Regions from separate parts of the Homo sapiens genome. Here all the other regions are linked to region 5. Evidence: promoter capture Hi-C in 16 types of primary human blood cells and fetal thymus (Javierre and others, 2016). All regions are on one chromosome and are shown on one strand. Each heading gives the region's core, a stretch centred on a gene start or on the middle of the fragment in contact. The rest is flanking DNA. Distances are from core to core; before and after follow the strand shown.

Region 1 (2,700 bases), core at 85-2,584, 2.4 Mb before region 5:
TTCCTTCGCTTTTAATGAAGTATTTAATCTGCATTTTGTTTGGCGAGGACAGTGTCATCGGTGGTCAAATACAGGCTGGAGTTTTAGAGATGCACCTCTAAATAGTAGAGGCAGAGTTCATTGTACAGATCACAGATATCTGGTCATTGAGAACTTGGAGAATATCTTAAATGTCCAGACTCCTAAAACATTATTCCAGAAATAGCTCCTCCCAATCACTGGTGCTTTACTTTGTCACATTTGTGAAATGCACTTGGAAGCATTAATAGCAGTGGTCAGAGGGCTCAGAAGGAAACCCTGGGGCACTTGAACATTGATCGTCCGTCAGGGAAGCAGGAACAAAGTAGACAGAAGGAACAGCCACTGAAGAAGCAAAATTGTCCCAAAGCCAAGAGGGTGCTGTTTCAGAGAGGGAGCCTGTACTGCTGATGAGTCAAATGAGAAGACAGCGGAGCAGGATCTTGGGGTATAAGTTCCCTGAGAATAGTGGAGAGGAGAGCCTCTTGAGACAGGTGAGACAGACACCTCTCAAGAAATTTCACTGTGAGGGGCCAGGACATGTTCAGTTCCTAACATAGTAGAGTCTTGTCTGACACTTCGCTTCATTCAGCAAACACCTGAGTGCTGGCTAAGTGCTTGGGGCATATTCAGATGTCGATAGATACGAGGATATATTAGTTTTTCTGTTGAGGAATACCTGAGACTAAAGAAAAGAGATTTAATGGGCTCACGGTTTAGGCTGTAGAGGAAACATGGTGCCGGCACCTGCTTCTGGTGAAGACCCCAGGAAGCTTCCACTCTGACAGAAGGCAAAGGGGGAGCAGGCACCTCACACGGCAAGAGAGGGAGCAAGAGGCAGGGGGAGGTGCCACACACTCAAATAGCCAGATCTCTCAGGAACTCAGAGGGAGAACTCACTCATTACAGCGAGCATAACATCAAGCCATTCATGAGGCATCTGCCCCCATGACCCAGACGCCTCCCACCAAGCCCCACTTCTAACACTGGGAACCACATTTTAACATAAAGATTTGGAGAGGGCACACATCCAAACTGGATCAGAGGATAAGTGAGTTACACTTCCTACCCTCAAACAACTTACTCCCTGGTGAGAAAGCTACATATAAACAGACGTTTCTAACGTCGGAAGTGTTCCAGAGAGGACTGCAAGAGCACCCAGGAGGGGTACCGCCCCCTTCTTGTAAATTGAAGAGTTAAGATGTAGAAGCACTTCAAAAGGACCTGGCACATAGTAAGTCCTCAATAAAGGTGTCTGTTACTAACTGTATGTGTATAAAGACCTAGAAGTGTGCGAGAGATCTGGTTCCCTTCAGGAGCACGAGTCTACTGTGTGCTTTGAGAGTGGAGGGCAGGGAATGAGGGGTGAGCCAGCAGGTGGGTCGGAGCCAGGCAGGACCTCAGATGCTTCTCTGACACCTAGGAAATCCTTGGCCTACTGTCGGGACCTGGAGCCTGTGGAGGATTGGGAGCTGTAGAACCGTGTGGTCAGCTCTGTCTCCTAGAACAGTCACTGTAGGCAAAGGCCTGGCCTGGGCATGAGTGAGGCTGGGAGATCTGTGTGAGATGTTCTGAGAAGACGGAGGGAAGAACTATGGTGGTACAGTCAAAAGGAATTAGACTTGTGAATTAAGGAGGATTTACTAAAAATGCCTGTTTGTAAGCAGTCATCTTATTATTTTCTTTTCTAGAGATGCAAAGAATATGGCCAAGGATGTACATGATGCCCTTGTGCAAATAATAAGCAAAGAGGTTGGAGTTGAAAAACTAGAAGCAATGAAAACCCTGGCCACTTTAAAAGAAGAAAAACGCTACCTTCAGGATATTTGGTCATAAAACCAGAAATTAAAGAAAGAGGATTAAGCTTTTTTGACTGAAAGTACTAAAAGTCAGCTTTACTAGTGCCAAACCTTTAAATTTTCAAAAGAAAATTTTCTTTCAACATTTCTTGAAGGACATGGAGTGGAGATTGGATCATTTAACAATATAACAAAACTTCCTGATTTGATTTTACGTATCTTCTATCTACGCCCTTCCTGTGCCTGTGACTCTCCCCAAATTGCCCTGTTGCCTTGAGCTCTTCTGAGCTAAGGCAGCCTTCAGTCCCTATCAGCGCCTCCTTTACTTCCCAGAGAACTTCACAGAGACTCTGTCCTTCCATGCAAAGGCTTCCTGAAATAGGGAGACTGACTGAGTAGCTCATTCTTGTGACTTACAGTGCCAACATTTAAAAAAGTATGAAAATGATTTATTTTTATATGATGTATACCCATAAAGAATGCTCATATTAATGTACTTAAATTACACATGTAGAGCATATCTGTTATATGTTTATGTAACTATCAAATGGTTATTTGTTACTAAAGCTATATTTCTGATAAAAAATATTTTAGGATAATTGCCTACAGAGGGATTTATTTTTATGATGCTGGAAATATGAAATGTATTTTAAAATTTCACTCTGGCATATGATTTATCTATCACCATTACTTTTTTTTAAGTCACAATTTCAGAATTTTGGGACATTTGCATTCAATTTACAGGTACCAGTACGTACATATTTTAATAGAAAGATACAACCTTTTTATTTTCACTCCTTTTATTTCTGCTGCTTGGCACATTTTTGAGTTTTCCCACATTATTTGTCTCCATGATACCACTCAAGCAGTGTGCTGGACCTAA
Region 2 (2,700 bases), core at 78-2,577, 2.3 Mb before region 5:
GGGCCAAGATATTGAGGCTGCATCGAAAATGTTCTGGTTTGACTGCCAAATCAACCAAAATAAAGGCAACCAACGGATCAGGTTAATGGAGTGTCTCTGAGATGGACAGGGACCCTTCGCACTCCTGCACCAGGACAGCGCCCAAGCATCTGGAGGAATCTGCACATTCTATTGATGGCAATGAGGAATCAAATCTGTAATGCCAGGGGGCAAAGTTGGGTGGAGGCACCCTCACATTCCCATGGCACCTGCCCTTATTCCAGTTTACAATCGTGGACCTGAATCCAGTGAAGCCACTCATGGGCTGCCTTTCAGCCCCACTTGAAAGAATCCTTCTACTGGGGCTGGGAAAGAGCAGCTTGGTGACCTTTTCCAGCCTCTTGGCATCAGCTTGGGTGGGAAAGCTGGGTGGGCAGGGGAAGAGTCTCCTGAGGGTGGAGAAAATCAGGCAGAGGCACCTTAGGAGGAGCCATGTAGCTGTACAAACAGAAACATTATTGGGAGCTTCAGCTAAAAAGCTTGGACCTGTGTGTTTTTAGTGTTATATACATATGTATCCATCCATCCATCCGTCCATCCCTCCATCCAACAAATGCTCAGTGAGCCCCTGTTACAAACCTGTTCCTTGCTAGGTGCTCCACAAAGAATGCACAGTCTAGGGTGGGAGACAATTACATTAATTGATAAATTATTAGATAATAGTTAAGATAAGTCACACTGTAAACATATTGAGAATTTCTGTCCTTGTCTGTCTCTTCAGGCACTCTTATCACCACTCCTAGTCTCAATTTATTGAGACTTCAGCAACGTAAAGCTGCTTGTTTCTCCTGAAAAATATGCCACACTTTCAGGCTTCTATTCCTTTTAAATACTGTAACCAATGTTTGGAATGACTCCTATTCCCCATTTCTGCTTGTCTACTTGGCCAATTTTCCCATCCCTCAAAACTCAGCCCAGGAGAGGTTGCTTGGTGTAGCTGCCATGATTCTGGCTCATTTGGTTCCTGGCTGATTTAACCACTGCCTGTTGTTGTCACCAGACCACTAGCCAGTGACCATACTGGGTTGACACTGTTCACAGGAGGCCACCTCACTGAGCTCTAAGTTCTTTTTTGGCCTGGACTATAGCACTGCATCTTCATAATCCCTGTGAGTGGTGCACTGTGGGTTACCCAAAAATGCTTGCTGGAGAAATGGAATGAACTAATGGTGTGCTCTGGCAGCAAGGAAGATCAATTAGCCAACTCTTGTTTCCTCATCATTCCACAATCATCCATAGGTATTTCTAGTGTGTGCCAGGCCTATGCTGGGAGCTGAGGTCACTGTGGTGAGTGTAGTACCTCTCCTCACAGAGCTTTCCCTCTGACAGACGTCAAATGCAGTTATCAATAGTCACAGAACAGTACGCATATGATCGTGAGGCTTTGGGTTAAAGACCCTATGACTGTGGGAAGCCCAGGTAGAAGGGATGAAGGTGACAAGGCCCCATCCCAAGCTGTGGCAGGGTCAAGGCAGAGGCAGGGGTTAGAATAGGAGAGGGAAGGAGCCTTCAGGGAGGTGTCAGCAAACAAAGCCCTGTCCATGAAGATGAGGTTCTTTTTGCTGGTTGTAATTATCCTGCAAGTGTCTGGGATCTCAGTGGAATAAAAGGCCAGCCTCCAGACAAATGGAAATGAGTCTAGGAGATGAAGGAAGAAATAAGTGAAAAGGTTCCCAAAGCAGGCAGTTCTGCAAAGGGAGCAAACATAAAATTGAAGAGGTATATGAAGGTCTTCTTCAATTTACCTTAATAATAAAAGTATCTATTTCCTTGGCTTTCAGAATTTAGCCCTCAGGGCAGTTAAATTGGAAATGATAGCGGTATTGTGTAATGTTTACTTTGAACCACACATGTAAGAATGATTTAGGAACTGGATTCTATTACAAATGCCCACATAAACCTCTAGGGCTCCCTCATCCTGCTCACATTTCAAACAGCTTGTCTCTCCACATCACCGCAAAGCTGCTTTTCTTGGGAGAATTCATTATAAAACTCGAAGGGCAGTTTGGACGAGGGCAACCATTAGGCTAGATCACTTACAAACTGGTGTAGGTATTGGAAAATGAATGGGAATAAATACTGTTTGAAATACTACAGGGAAGCTTACAAGCCTCAGCTTCCTGGTGTGACATCATTATTGTGCATGATCCTAGAATGAGTGGGAACGTGCCCACTTAGGCTTATTTCCATAGAAATGTCATTGGATTTTTTTTTTTTTAAACCAAGGAAACTCGAATCACAAAGTTGGTTCCAAGGCTGGTTCTTACACCATCTTGACAAGCCATTCATTCACACACCATCTCAACAAGTGACATCATCTTGACAAGACCTTGATCTTCCTCTGTACATCCAGGCAGCCAAGCTGTATGAACTGGAGCTTTCCATCTATAGTCTTCTGTTTCTTAGTATGCGGGTTATACAAGTGTTAACTCAGTGTAGATTGAGAAAAAAGAAAAACTACCAGCAAATGTTCTATTGAGACAAAAAAGATATGGGAGAGTGTTTTCAAAAATTATAAAGTTCTAGGCAAATGGCTGCCTTCTTATTACTAGTATTATAACTTTTGTTAAATATTTGATCGATTCCTCACTTTCCCTTAACAGAAATATGTTTAATGGACATTGGAAAGAGAAAATGTTGTTGAATTCTGAAAGTTTAGGT
Region 3 (2,700 bases), core at 41-2,540, 2.4 Mb before region 5:
AACAACTATGGGCTATTGTTTTTGCACTTGTACTTCATTATTTTGTGAATTGTTTAAGTGAGATAATTGCAGTAAGTGTATCTCAGTCTGGTTTGGGAACAGACACAACTTATGCCTGGACTGGTGGGAGCAGAGTGCAGTGTTGCACCACAGACAGGATCAGTTCATGGCAGCGGGGATAGAGATTAATCATTAATCTGACTAGGAGTTTTAAATTAGCCGGAAGATCTGTTAAGAGTTTATGGGTTTTTTCCGGGAGGCGGAGGTTGCAGTGAGCCAAGATTGCGCCACTGCACTCCAGCCTGAGCGACAGAGTAAGACTCCGTCTCAAAAAAAAAAAAAAAAAAAAAAAGTTTCTGGGTTTTTTCTTAATAGAAAGTGTCATTAAATAGGCTTGAGTTGTTAATAATGTAGTTAAAAGATTTAACAAATCTGAAGTACTTAAGAGAGACAATATAAATATGAAATAATATACTGAGAGAGTAAAGAATTGGGAAAAAAAGAATGTTTTGTAGGGCATCCTCTTGGGACCATTGCCTTGAGGCACAGAGGGGTTGGAAGCAGGATTGGGCACAGTGAGAAGCTGAGCTGCGATGCAGTCTCAACAAAGGCCTCAGTCAGCTCCTCTCCATATGGTACCTTTCTGCCATGTGGAAGTATTACCTCTAATAACCAGAGGGTCTTCTGGGTTGTGTGGTAGAGCGGCAGGACCTGTTAACGAGCACTGTCACTTGGATCTGCTGTAGAGCCCTCTCCTGCTCTGGGCCCCACGCAAAGCTGGTGGCCTTTTCTGTCACCTGGTATTTGGGTCTCAGCAGTCCTCCCAGGTATGGAATGTGCTACCCACAGATCCTGAAGAGACTTAGCAGTGGTTCTGCTTCTCTCTAGAAGTGAGGTACAAGGTGCACTAGTGTGGCCTTCACTTGGGAGGGGATGTCCTGACGTGCACCAAACTGTTAGAACCCTAAAAATTGTGCTGGCACTGCAGGCCCTTTAATTGCATAGGGCATGGGTCTTACCAAAGACCGCACTGTCCTGGCTACTCCTCGTTGCTCATTCAGTCTGATAGCACGATGCCCCTGATAGAGTAGGCTAGTGTGGTGCTTTGCAGGTGTTCCACATTTATTCAGACTCTTATAACAGCAGGCAGGACTTATGATAGCCCTGGGGCATAATTGTAAATTTATACATTGTTCCAGCGCAAAGTGAACTGTTTCTGATCCTCTTTAGTGATAGGGTTGGGAAGGAGCACTTTGACTAAATCATTGTCCGTGTACCTGAGGCCATGCTAGTCTACTTTGTTAAGGAAAACCAGCTTGCACGGAGGTTACAGTGGACCTGTTTCTTGTTTGAGTTTCCAGTAGTTCAGTGTCATCCCCCAGGATTTATGTGGTTTTTGCAGTGGTCAAACTGGTGAATTAAATGGAGATACGATAGAGACCATCCCCTGTGTCCTCCAGCTTTTTAAGGATGTCATTTCTCTCAGGATGCTATTTTGTTTCTCTTGTTCTATCTTGGTGTTTAGGGAGGAGGATGGCGTCAAATTCAGAGACTTCTTCTTGGCCCTCCCCATGATGATAGATCTTAACGTCATAGGCCAATAATTCGGTGTTGCCCTGTGCCAGCTGCTGAGTGGCCACTGGAGGTCCTGGGCCAGGACGCCATTTACCGCCTGGCCCCCATGTGCCTTGCTGTCATAGATGAGCTATGCTGATGCTTTGGGTCCCTGGGTAACAACATTCATTTGAACCCCCTCTTAACAGACCCTGGAATGTTTGCACATTCCCCTTAGCCCAGTGTACATTTCCCCTTTGGGAGAAGGACTGCAGAAGCCATTGTCAAGTACAGTTTCTATAGTGTCTCACAGTCCCTCCTCCTAGGGACCTCTTCTCTCCTACAGTCAGTGGGTTGCAGGTCTGGAAACAGGGCAAAGGATCGTTTTTATTGGAGCAGCGGCCTACAGCTCCTTTTACATGCCTCCTTGATTTCTTTTCATTGTAAGGATTGATCCAGTGCCTTTGTGGGCTGCCCATTTTTTACATCTGTGTTCTGCCCTCCTCAATTTAGGACCTCAGCTGTGTTGTGTGCATTCTCTCCTAGCTCCTGTGGGGGCATAGTGCTCTGTCGTATACTTTCTTAGGGGTTAGTCCCTTACCTTCCTTAGCTAGCCCAGTGCTTTAGTGGCCGAGTGTGTCGCAACAACCCCAGTTATTGGTCTAGCAACCAGAAGAGGGGATGGGGTGTGGTAGTGGGGGTACAGGCATGTGCTGTGGGCAGAGGTCCTTACACCATCCAGATGCGAGAAGGGAGTTCTTACTCTTCATGGGAGGGACTGGCCACATCTGCAGGCTCAAAGAGTTCAAGGGAATCTGGGTAGGAAGATTTTTAAGGGAATCTGGGTAGTCAAGATTTTTAAGGCGTTCTGGGTAGTCAAGATTTTTAAGGGAATCTGAGTATTCAAGATTTTTTTTCCCAGTTAGTCCTTGGCTTTCTCTGCCTTCACTGTCATGGGCTGCATGAGATGACTGTGTCTTTCTAAGCTCCTGAGGATGTCCCCTGGCTTAGTTCTATTTTAGTTTTACTTAGTTCTTAATTGGTGATTTGTCCTTTAAGCTTTTTGCATTTTTTTTCAAGTGCGAGTGAATTTTAGCAGTAGCCCCCCAAGTCCCACCAGTCTTCTCTTCTGCTGTTTCTCTCTAG
Region 4 (2,700 bases), core at 42-2,541, 2.3 Mb before region 5:
TAGTCAATATTTGATTACCAATCAGCAGATTATCTATGTCAGACACCAGAAAAACATTCTGAGTCCCCTGCTTCTCTGATCAGTGGGTGTGAAATGGGAGAAATAGGGTAATATTCACTTTGACCTGAGAAATGCACAGACCGTAATGTTAAATATTGGACAATGCATTGTCATGTTGGATACAATATTTGCAGACAGGGCACTATTTTAGAATTTATTTCTGCTGTGCTTCTCCATCCAGGCCATGAATAGTAATAGATTTATAGTTGATTTAAGAAATTTTTGTAACTCAATAAATACTGAACTAAAGCATTCAAATTATCTGCTTTGAAACTGTAAATTTTTGTTCTAATCCTAACTCTCTTCTTTTTGGATACTGAAAAACAATGAAGGTGATGCATTCTCCCAGCCTGATTGCCTCTCTGCAATGTCGAAGTATTGGCAGTGATTTCTAAAATAGCAATATTTTATACACTTTTTAAAATGAGCTTAATATTAAAATGAATTATACATTTCTCTGAGCAGATGGAACAATGTTTTATTCAATTTTACTATAGTTTATTTTCAGAAATTTGATATAAAAACATCAGGAATAAAAACCTGCTCTCTCCTGAAAATATGGTTCATGTAGAAAAGTGGCTTAGAGATTAATAGAAACTTAATTTAGAGACTGATATCAACTGCACAGTTACTAGTAAATGTCATTTCATATAGTCTGTTCTAAAGATCATATTAGCTCATCCACTAAAAAATCAAGCTTATTACTCATGATAAGAGTTGATATCAGATCTAGCTCAGATAAACTTATTGTACTATGTTGACAAGATAAAGCTAGCTAGTCAAGAACACTTTCACGAAAAAAGAGAAAAGTAGTACAAATTCTTTTCGCAATGCTAGTGGCAAAAAACCACTCTATGATATTTATTAAACTAAAATGTAGGTCAGACAAGAAATTGTATTCCACCTCTTATTTAATTAGTAATCAGAGGTCAGCAGTTCAAATGTGCTCCCTTTCCTTCTCAACTGTTTGGCAATTTAATGCTATGTAACGTGAAACACGTAAAATGTCTCAGTGTTAGATAAAGAGTCACAAGATAGAAGGGAGATCTGGATTCTGGAAAATCCAGACTTTCCTTCTAACCTGTTGCTAAGAAGATCACATTGCTGGCTTTCATCTCTGTAAGTGTAGACAGCTCAACTTCCTACAAGAATTTGCTAGTGCCTGTTTAAGGTGATGGTTTATCATTTCACCTGGATGTTACTGGTTTCAATTAGAAGCAGAGGATTGACTGGATGTACTTTAAAGAAAATTGATTTTATAATTCTCTTTGAATTCAGAATAGAAAATGAACAATGAACGCATCAGCACTCTCCACCGTAGTGCCAGAAGAGCTGCAGGGGGTACTTAGAATTTAGTTACAGCAGGTTAATCCAGTATTCAGCATCCCAGAATATGATGTCACTCTAATTTTACACCTTCCCAAAACAAACAAATGAATAAACAAACAACTTCCAAAACCACTGCAGTGTTTTACACTAGGAATGTCAGCATGACGCCTATGGAAATTGGAATGTGTTACTGTTTCTCTTCAGACAAGTCCATAGGTACAGAAGAAAGCAGGCACAGGTGGTGACAGCTGGCACAGATATGGTGCAGGGCTAAATGAGAGTCACCTAGAACATTGCCTGATTTTTACTTTTTAAAGTCAATTTCAAACTGCTTCACAAGTTTACAGAAGAGCTCACCCTTAGTTTTGCTTTCTCCCAGTACGGTGACTGTTGACCGACATAAAACTTGAACTTAGGCACTGTTAAAGGTAGTACACTAAGCTTCAATCTGAGCATCTAGATTCAACACTGAAACTCTATATCACCTGCAAAAATATGTGTATATTCAGTCTAATGTAGAATTCTTTGAGATGTGTGACAACACCCTTGTGTTATACCACTTCGTGTGACTTCTGAAGATATCATGACATTCTAAATGCCTCTTCCTGTGTTAAATCTCTGTTCCCTATTTTGTGATGTAACTCTTTACAATTGTTTCATTTTGTCATCGGATGTTCTCTAAAGCCAAATTCAACCCTTGATAAATGTGTGATGTCCATGGCAATAGGAAATGCGTGACAGGGTAAGCTGGCCAGGTTTTCTATTTATAAGGAGTTGGTGTCAAATTGATATGGTTTGGCTCTGTGTCCCCACCAAATCTCGTGTCAAATTGTAATCCCCAAGGTTGGACCTGGGGCCTGGTGGGAGATGACTGGATCATTGTTGCGGGGGAGGGTCCTTCATGAATCCCTTGGTGCTGTTCTCATGATGGGGCTCTCAGGAGCTCTGGTTATTTAAAAGTGTGTGGCTCCCTGCTCTCTCTCTTACTCCTGCTCTGACCATGTAAGGTATGCCTACTTCCATCCCATCACTTTGGGAAGCCAAGGTGGGCAGACCACAAGGTCAGGAGATCGAGACCATCCTGGCTAACATGGTGAAACCCTGTCTCTACTAAAAATACAAAAACATTTTCCGGGCGTGGTGGTGGGCGCCTGTAGTCCCAGCTACTCGGGAGGCTGAGGCGGGAGAATGCCGTGAACCCGGGAGATGGAGCTTGCAGTGAGCCGAGATCGTGCCACTGCACTCTAGCCTGGGAGACAGAGCGAGACTCCGTCTCAAAAAAAAAAAAAAAAAAAAAAAAGATATGCCTAT
Region 5 (2,700 bases), core at 66-2,565:
GAATCTCGCTCTGTCGCCCAGGATGGAGTGCAGTGGCGCGATTATAGCGCACTGTAAACTGAACTCCTGGGCTCCACCCATCCTCCTGCCTCAGCCCCAGAGTAGATGGGAACACAGTCGCCAAGTCTGTTCTTGAGTTTCAGGACAGGGTCAAATGTTATAGTGCATGTATTCATTTCAGCACTTATTGAGTGCCTAATAAAGTCTGGGAATAATACAACTTTATTAGTTAAGTCCCTGCCCATGGCAGTAGGGGAGAAGCAAGGATGGAAACCCTCAACAAATAAATCTAAACCTATCAAATATTAAGTCATGATCTTGGAGGGCGGGGAGGAAGGCAGCATAAGAGATTTAGAGGACAGCTGCGGTTGCCAAGATCTTTCTGAGGCAGCATAATACAGGGCTTAAGAGTGAGACCTGCCGGGCACCGCGGTGGCTCAGGCCCAACACTTGGGGAGACCTAGACGGGTACATCACTTGAGGTCAGCCGTTCGAGACCAGCCTGGCCACTACGGCGTTAACACCGTCTCTACTAAAAATACAAAAATTAGCGAGCGTGGTGGTTCTGTGCCTGTAGTCCCAGCTGCCTGGGAGGCTGAGGCACGAGAATCACTGGAACCCGGGAGGCGGAGGCTGCAGTGAGCCGAGACCGCGCCACTGCACTCCAGCCCGGGCTACAGTCTTGTCTCAAAAAAAAAAAAAAAAAAAAAGAGTGTGGGACCCATTGCATCAGGCTGTGTAACTGTTTCTTACTAGCTGTATACCAGTGGCAAGTTACTGAACCATTTGTGCAAAATGTTAATTTATTTACCAACACTGTGTTCAGCTTGCCAGGCACCGTTCTCCTTGAATCTCACAGCAGCCCTGTGAGTAGGCACTACTGTTACCACCGTCACTTTGCAGACAGGGAACCCGAGGGACAAAGAAGTTAAGGGATTTCCTCAAAGCCACAGCTAGGAAGAGCGGCAGAACTGCGATTCCAATCCATCAGTGTGCCTCCACTATCCCTATTCCTTAAGATCGTGCCAAAGGCTGAGTCACTTGCACTAAGTAGCCTAGAACAGTCTCTGGGGAAACGCGCCCGCCGACAAGGATCGCCAGAACCGGCGCGGGCACCGCGCGGCGACCAGGAGCTCTGGTCACCGAAGGCCAGGCTGGAGGCCAGAGCAGCCGCCCGCACCCGGTCACCGCCTCGACAGTGGAGACCTCAGCTGACCGCGAGCCCCCGGCCCGCCCGCACCCCTTCTCATGCCCCCAGGAACCCGCCAAGCCGCTCCAGCCTCACCTCCTCCTCCCTCCATCGCGAGATTTCCAACAGCGTTTTTAAAAAAAAAAAAAAAAAAAAAAAAAAAAAAAAAAAAACCGGAAATGGGTCCTACCATCTTCTCGGAGCCGGAGTGCGAAGAAATAAAGAAATAGTGCTTTAAGTCAATGAATTCCTCCTTGGGACCCACTATCGAGAAACTATCAGTGGTAACGTTTTAAAAAATGACAAATTCAATCTGCTCTTGACTTGTGTGTCCTAAGATTTCCACTAAGTGTCTTCAAACCTCCCCCTCCCCGGCTTCCTGGATAATAGAAGTTCCCGAAGGCCGCCGATTCCAGAAGATACTGTCTGGCGTGAAATTAGTCTCAGTAGAAACATAAGTCCCGCGCGTCTTGTGCTGCGCGTGCGCAAGCTTTTGGGCCCTCCCGAGAAAGGGAAGTGCATTCTCGCTTCCGTAGCGGTCTCCGCCGGTTGGGGGGAAGTAATTCCGGTTGTTGCACCATGGCGTCCATGGGGACCCTCGCCTTCGATGAATATGGGCGCCCTTTCCTCATCATCAAGGATCAGGACCGCAAGTCCCGTCTTATGGGACTTGAGGCCCTCAAGGTAATGGCACAGGGACCTGCTCGCGGTGGGCTAAGGGGAGGTGGCCGAGGCCGTGGCTCTGCGCCTGCGCGAGTTGAGGAGCGGCTCTGCCATGTGCTCCCCGGAAAGGTCGAGAATCTCCGTCTCCCTGCGGTCTCCGGCCGCTCAGCCCGCTTACTGAGCTCGGGAGACGCCGGCGCCTAATCCTGGGCTCGGAATGTGGGGGCCAGCCAGGCTGGGCCGCCAGCGCCCTTCGGAGCTGGGTGGGGCCGCTCAGTCCGGTCGCCCGCGGGAGCAAAGCGGGACCGCCTCCCCGCCCGGCTCCTCCAGCCTGACGGCCGCGTGGGACTGCGCTCCAGTGGGAGGGCGCCGGGGAGATGCTCTGTCACCTGTCGGTTAAGGCGCTGCTGCTTAACCTTTCGCTGGTCCACCCGCAACGGCCCTTCCGTTTTCTTTGTCACTCGTAAAGGTGTGGTCACTTAACAGGGTATTTCATTTCTGAGTGCTTTTTTGCCCACCCTTGAGGAAAAATAGCGAAGAGTGAAAAACGGACGCACATAACCGTAATACAAGGTGGTGTGCAGTGAGAAGGACAGCTACGGAGAGGGTGCACATAAGCGTGGTGCTGGAGGACAGCTTTAGATCGGGGTGAGAGGTAGCATTCTAGGGAGAGGAAACGGTAGAAGTAAAGGCTTGGGCAAGAATGCGCATGGCACGTTGTAGAATGGAAGAGCCATCCGGTTTTAATGGAGCACTGACTTCTTTAACTTACAATAGTTCCCGAAGGTGGAAGCTATTGAATGCCCAACATGGAAAATACGACGTTATCTTTGGGGAAGAAGGGGAGC

What was found. The method cuts DNA at HindIII sites, captures the fragments that hold promoters and counts their contacts. A CHiCAGO score of 5 or more calls a contact.
Region 1: a contact is called between a fragment that was not itself captured here and the fragment with the promoter of ATPSCKMT in region 5, in 2 of 17 cell types (endothelial precursors and activated CD4 T cells). The highest score is 14.0, in endothelial precursors.
Region 2: a fragment that was not itself captured here is called in contact with the fragment with the promoter of ATPSCKMT in region 5 in 1 of 17 cell types (endothelial precursors); the score reaches 8.0 in endothelial precursors.
Region 3: a fragment that was not itself captured here is called in contact with the fragment with the promoter of ATPSCKMT in region 5 in 11 of 17 cell types (naive CD8 T cells, activated CD4 T cells, megakaryocytes and 8 more); the score reaches 15.2 in naive CD8 T cells.
Region 4: a fragment that was not itself captured here is called in contact with the fragment with the promoter of ATPSCKMT in region 5 in 1 of 17 cell types (endothelial precursors); the score reaches 8.0 in endothelial precursors.

The regions. Positions count from the first base shown.
Region 1 is chr5:7,898,205-7,900,904 of GRCh38, forward strand. MTRR (5-methyltetrahydrofolate-homocysteine methyltransferase reductase) reads left to right here. Exons shown (of 15, transcript NM_002454.3): 15 at 1,710-2,700. The coding sequence ends at 1,854. Among named protein-coding and RNA genes, the nearest start is that of MTRR, 30 kb to the left of the region's middle. The HindIII fragment of the contact is 1,091 bases long and covers 790-1,880 here.
Region 2 is chr5:7,914,441-7,917,140 of GRCh38, forward strand. No RefSeq gene overlaps it. Among named protein-coding and RNA genes, the nearest start is that of MTRR, 47 kb to the left of the region's middle. The HindIII fragment of the contact is 1,623 bases long and covers 517-2,139 here.
Region 3 is chr5:7,879,134-7,881,833 of GRCh38, forward strand. The region is part of intron 5 of MTRR (5-methyltetrahydrofolate-homocysteine methyltransferase reductase); the gene reads left to right. Among named protein-coding and RNA genes, the nearest start is that of MTRR, 11 kb to the left of the region's middle. The HindIII fragment of the contact is 2,641 bases long and covers 1-2,611 here.
Region 4 is chr5:7,934,990-7,937,689 of GRCh38, forward strand. No RefSeq gene overlaps it. Among named protein-coding and RNA genes, the nearest start is that of MTRR, 67 kb to the left of the region's middle. The HindIII fragment of the contact is 1,073 bases long and covers 756-1,828 here.
Region 5 is chr5:10,248,573-10,251,272 of GRCh38, forward strand. ATPSCKMT (ATP synthase c subunit lysine N-methyltransferase) reads right to left here and starts at 1,316. Exons shown (of 5, transcript NM_199133.4): 1 at 1,286-1,316. The coding sequence starts at 1,301. CCT5 (chaperonin containing TCP1 subunit 5) reads left to right here and starts at 1,708. Exons shown (of 11, transcript NM_012073.5): 1 at 1,708-1,873. The coding sequence starts at 1,769. RefSeq lists silencers at 1,086-1,205, 1,216-1,275, 2,026-2,095, 2,166-2,305, 2,636-2,700. The HindIII fragment of the contact is 6,282 bases long and covers 1-1,677 here.